Linked DNA regions of Homo sapiens: region 1 is linked to region 2. The links are contacts of gene promoters, found by promoter capture Hi-C in human tissues and cell types (Jung and others, 2019). All regions are on one chromosome and are shown on one strand. Each heading gives the region's core, a stretch centred on a gene start or on the middle of the fragment in contact. The rest is flanking DNA. Distances are from core to core; before and after follow the strand shown. Region 1 holds the start of BBS1 (Bardet-Biedl syndrome 1). Region 2 holds the start of RBM4 (RNA binding motif protein 4).

Region 1 (2,700 bases), core at 109-2,608, 130 kb before region 2:
TTCCATCAGACCAAGGCTGCAAGTGGCCCTCCATTCGTGTGTGTATTTAGGGGCTGGGGAGGGGGAGGGGCAGGAGCTTGGACCTTGGTACTACCTCAGCTGAGGGTGGTGACACAACCCCTTCCATTTGTCAGCACTTTCCAGCCTGCCAATTGCTTCCCCTCTGTGATCTCATTTCATCTGCACTGCCATACGTGGAGTGAGCAAGACAGGGCTTACCATCCTGTCTACCAGATGAGGAAATGGCAGTTCTGAGAAGTCACTGGTCTAGATCCCGCAGGTGGCACGTGACAGCTAGGGTTCAAAACGTTCTCACCAAATCCAATGCTCCTCACATATTAATTTTATAACCAGACAAATAAATATTAGAGACAACCACCATCTTTGCGGCGTGTGTGGCTCCTCCTTGCCTTTGCCTGTCTTCTCATTTACTCCCAGCAGAGTGATGGGCTCAAGGCCTGGGGAGGGGGCAAGGAGGGCCATTTTTAGCCTCCCTTCCACAACAGGATGTTGACATTATCTCTAGATGAGGATACGCAGTCACAGAGCTGAACATAGCACAATTTTTGCAGCTCTCCTTTGTGGCATTCCTTGCATTTTTAAATGTTCTGGGGCCGGGCACGGTGGCTCATGCCTGTAATCCCAGCACTTTGGGAGGCCGAGGCGAGGGGATCACGAGGTCAGGAGTTCGAGACCGGCTTGGCCAATATGGTGAAACCTCGTCTCTACTAAAAAATAAAGTAGCTGGGCATGGTGGCATGCGCCTGTAATCCCAGCTACTCGGGAGGCTGAGGCAGGAGAATCCCTGGAACCCGGGAGGCGGAGGTTGCGGTGAGCCGAAATCGCGCTACTGCGCTCCAGCGCAAGCGACAGAGCGAGACTACGTCTCAAAAAAAAAAAAAAAAAAAAAAAGTTCTGGGAACCTACAAACTCAACTTCAGTCAGAATCCTCTGCATTTGTCCCATAACCCTCGTGTTTTGTTTCTCTGGGCCTGGACCTCTACAGTAACGCAGCAAGGCAGGACATGGTCCTTTTCAACCGGGTAACCATGAAGATGGAGACAGGAGGAGTTCTTTTTGCTGCTCATAAATGCTAGAAGGGGCTTCTTTCCAACCCTGGAAGCCAGAGGGCTCTGTGGCTGACCCAGAGATTGTAGGACCCAGACGCCTGGAAAGGTGGCTCTGACTGGGAAGGAGCAAAGATAAATATCTTTGAGGAATCTGAGACAGATTCCTCAACCCAGGAAGGTGGCCAGCGCGTCCTCCTGAGCCTGGGTGGGAAAGCTTGGCGCCCGGAACCTTTGTACTCGCCCTTCCCTGTGCTCGGGCACTATTGGGCGTTACGCGAGGGCGGGGCCGGTTGCCAGGACGACGCCTGCGAAGATGGCCGCTGCGTCCTCATCGGATTCCGACGCCTGCGGAGCTGAGAGGTGAAGGCAGGGCTCCTCAAGGCCTCTTTTCCCACCCGTGTAAAGAGGGTCCCTTGGTCCCCGGGCTCTGGGCTCCTGCTGTTCTCGGGCAGTCTGGAAGGACTCTTAAGAGGTCAGATAGGGAAACCGAGGCCTAAGATGTGCATATGTGTGTCTGGAGGTCGCTCGGTGAGCCAGTGGCGGAGCCTGGACTTGTACCCAGACGTTCTGTACCTTATGTTCAGAGTGACCTGTACCAGCTTCCTCAAAGTTTTTTTTTCCCCTCCCATGGGACTCACTCCCCAACTGTCTTTCCCCCACTTCCAGCAATGAGGCCAATTCGAAGTGGTTGGATGCGCACTACGACCCAATGGCCAATATCCACACCTTTTCTGCCTGCCTAGGTGAGTCTCTGGAACCAGGAACCCTGGGTTCTAGTGGGATGGGGAGTCAGACAATGGTCCTGTAGTGAAGCCTCTGGGATTCTGAGACTCTGGTTTTGGCCCTTTTGTTTTCCAGCGCTGGCAGATTTACATGGGGATGGGGAATACAAGGTAAGCATATCACCCTAGCCAGGAGAGTTGAGGGTAGGGGGGTGTACCCAGAAATGAGATTTCCTGACGGCTGAAAATAGGCCCAGCATACTCTGGAATTCACATATACTGTGAAAAAGCACATTTAGCGTTAAATTTTGTTTTTATATGGAAAGTGAAGAGAACTTATTGATTTCATAATACAGACTGCAGAAAGTAAAGCAGATCAAATATTTCTGGGGATTCTACTAAGACAAAGCCTCTTAGTTAACCTGATTTCTTTGTTGGAAGGGCAAATCCCTTGGTTGGGGGTGGGCACTAGAATCTGGAGGGAAAGTAAAAAGGAGGGAAGTGAACGTTTGATGTTTATCAAAAGATTTTAAGATGGGCCATGAGCTGTCAATTTTTGAAGCTGGATAATGGGATATATGGGGACTCATTATATGAGTCTCTCTACTTTTGTATGTGAATGAAAATTTTCCATAGTAAAAATGTTACATTTTAAATTTAATTTTAAGGCCAGCAATCCCAGCACTTTGGGAGGCTGAGGTGGGTGGATCGCTTGAGCTTAGGCATTCGAGACCAGCCTGTCCAACATGGTGAAACACCATCTCTACTAAAAATACAAAAATTAGCCGGGCATGGTGATGGGCACCTGTAATCCCAGCTACTTGGGAGGCTGAGGCAGGAGAATTGGTCAAACCCAGGAGGCGGAGGTTGAGTGAGCTGAGACCATGCCACTACACTCCAGCCTGGAT
Region 2 (2,700 bases), core at 51-2,550:
AACCTTTGCTGCTCCAGTTTTTTCTCAGGGTGGGGTCGGGGTATACTTTAAATCTCCATGGTCTCAGAAAGGTTTCTTCATCGCGGACCCTGGGAGGCTGGTTCCCAGAGGGAACTTGTCCTCAGCGTCTCCTGGACAGTGCAGCCTCCTGCCGGGCCTACTTCTGGAAGGCCATTACAGAGGTCCTTTCACCACCTGTGAGAGGTTTGATTTTGGGGGAGCTCCGGGACTCTCAAGGCTACAGTGTGGACTGCTGGCCCAAGGAGAAGGTTGGTTTCCTGAAGTGGTGGGTGGTGGGTTGGGGGGGGTCTTCGTTGTTTTTCTTCCCTGGCATGTGCCTGCATAAGCTATTTCCACAGCGTCCTGGCCGCGAGGGGGGGTGGTGCTTGGGAGGTTAGAGGGAGACACCTAGAGTGAACGGCAAAATGGAGCGCGGAATACTGTCTGGCTGTGCACGTGGAGGTGGCGAAATGTGGAAGCTTAACGAAGTTGGCGCCATGAAGCTAAAGACTGCTACCCCGGGGCTCTAGCTCGCTCCGCCTAATGGCGGGCCGCACCCCGCCGGCGAAGCCCACGTTTGTAGGTCCGCCCTCACGCTGATCTCTTGCCCAATCAGCGAGTTCGGCTTCGCGAGGTTGGTGCCCATTGGCTTTCGCATAAAAGCTCCGAGGTTACAGACGTTTCCACCTCTTGCCGGCCTCTTAGGTAATTGGCGTCCGTGGTAACCAATCAGGAAGAGGATCTGAGGGAACGCCGGCCTTTTACTTTCTTGAGTGGCCAATCCGGTTGTAGGCTCACCTCCCCCTTCTACTCAGAGCACTGCTGCGGCCGCCGCCATTTTAGCGTTTTGTCAGAAGCGTCCGCGCCGCGAGGAGGAGGCCCTGCTGGTTTCTGTGCGGGTGAGACTCCGAGCCTTTCCACTGCCTTTCTTGTACTGTGTTAAATCTTCTCTCACTCCCTTGGGCTTCGGGGGTGTCCTGGTAGGTCCGCAGTCTCCACACCCGTCACTGAGAGCCGACCTCGGTCCTCGGCATTGCGCGGTAAGCCGGGAGCAGCCCTTCCCCCACCGCCCCCTGAGAATACCTTGCTTTTTTTCGCCCACCCTGTCCCGCGCCCGACATGGCTGCTCTTGGAGCCTCGAGATTTCCACTGGGATAACCCCCTTTCCCTTATATCTGACAGTTACATTCTCGTTTCGGGAATTTCTCGGGCCGTGAGACATCGTCTGGTTAATGAATCTGAAGCTCTTTTCCGCGGCCGCGCATTTCAGTGTTCGGCAGGAGCTAGGACGGTGCCCCGAGAGAGGCGTTCACCACTCCAGTATTTCCTTTATCTCCCACTCCTCGCTGTCTGATCCGAGTCGCGCGTTCATTACTTCCAAAGGAAACTCAAATGTAGCTATTACAAGGCCCATTTTCCCGGAAATGATGGCTGCTTTGGTTCCTACGTGAGGAAAAGCCTGTTGATAATTTCAGGCAGGCAGTCAGCAAGCCTAGTAGACTTTTGTTTTCTGTTGTCCTCCTAGTGGATAGAAAAGCCTAGTACCCCCATTTCTTCATATGCTGTCTTTCATGCCCATTTCTGTTGGAAGGTATCGGTTCTTACCAAACCCTTTGTCTACTAAGGACCTCCCTATTGCAGACGTCTTCTTATTCTTACAGGTTCATGGCGGCTACTATAGCAGGCCTTAGTTCACTCCCACTTCCATTTGATTATTGTGTGGAGGTGTGTGTGCAGGCGTGTGAGAGAGAAAACTGGAAATATACATTAGAGTGAAAGTCGTTGTCTTTTGTGAACGGATGTGGGCCTGAGGTCTTTTGTCAGATGTCTTGTTTTTCTCTCCCAGGCTCTTGTCAGGATGGTGAAGCTGTTCATCGGAAACCTGCCCCGGGAGGCTACAGAGCAGGAGATTCGCTCACTCTTCGAGCAGTATGGGAAGGTGCTGGAATGTGACATCATTAAGAATTACGGCTTTGTGCACATAGAAGACAAGACGGCAGCTGAGGATGCCATACGCAACCTGCACCATTACAAGCTTCATGGGGTGAACATCAACGTGGAAGCCAGCAAGAATAAGAGCAAAACCTCAACAAAGTTGCATGTGGGCAACATCAGTCCCACCTGCACCAATAAGGAGCTTCGAGCCAAGTTTGAGGAGTATGGTCCGGTCATCGAATGTGACATCGTGAAAGATTATGCCTTCGTACACATGGAGCGGGCAGAGGATGCAGTGGAGGCCATCAGGGGCCTTGATAACACAGAGTTTCAAGGTGAACCACCCTCTTTGGGTAGAGGGCTGAACACAAGGCTGTGTGCAGAAAATGGTTGGATAAGTAAAAGGAGAGGTTTGGTAAAGATAACAGCTGTTGGCTGGCTGGTGATGAAGAAATAAGTGTGGGTGATGGACTTCTTATGATGTAGAATGCATGGGACTTAGGGGCTTTACCTTAGGCAAATGTCTCCTGGAGAAAAGCCACTCACCTTTTATTTGGAGCCCCTACGGCTTTTGTGCTTATCAGTGCAGAAACCCTTTTCTTTGAAGGCTTTCTGAGTTACTGGGCCTTTTTTATTTTTTATTTTTTTGTAGTAGAGCACAGTTCAGAGTTCCTCACTCTGAATTTATTGCCCTCAGCACAGGATCAGAATTCTGCATTTTACGTGAAGAACCTCTCAAAAACATGTCAAGCGACACTTATAGGA

The links. The method cuts DNA at HindIII sites, captures the fragments that hold promoters and counts their contacts. A contact is called where the count stands out against the background at its distance.
Region 1: the fragment with the promoter of BBS1 here is called in contact with a fragment that was not itself captured in region 2 in 2 of the 25 tissues and cell types used here (dorsolateral prefrontal cortex and spleen).

What each region holds. Positions count from the first base shown.
Region 1 is chr11:66,509,277-66,511,976 of GRCh38, forward strand. BBS1 (Bardet-Biedl syndrome 1) reads left to right here and starts at 1,359. Exons shown (of 17, transcript NM_024649.5): 1 at 1,359-1,430; 2 at 1,737-1,813; 3 at 1,929-1,963. The coding sequence starts at 1,384. It overlaps DPP3 (dipeptidyl peptidase 3), which reads left to right. Exons shown (of 18, transcript NM_130443.4): 18 at 1-381. RefSeq lists an enhancer at 1,221-1,270. The HindIII fragment of the contact is 12,258 bases long and covers 628-2,700 here.
Region 2 is chr11:66,637,854-66,640,553 of GRCh38, forward strand. The region is part of intron 1 of RBM14-RBM4 (RBM14-RBM4 readthrough); the gene reads left to right. RBM4 (RNA binding motif protein 4) reads left to right here and starts at 850. Exons shown (of 4, transcript NM_002896.4): 1 at 850-899; 2 at 1,847-2,270. The coding sequence starts at 1,859. RefSeq lists enhancers at 301-1,014, 779-1,148, 1,015-1,726. The HindIII fragment of the contact is 5,623 bases long and covers 1-2,700 here.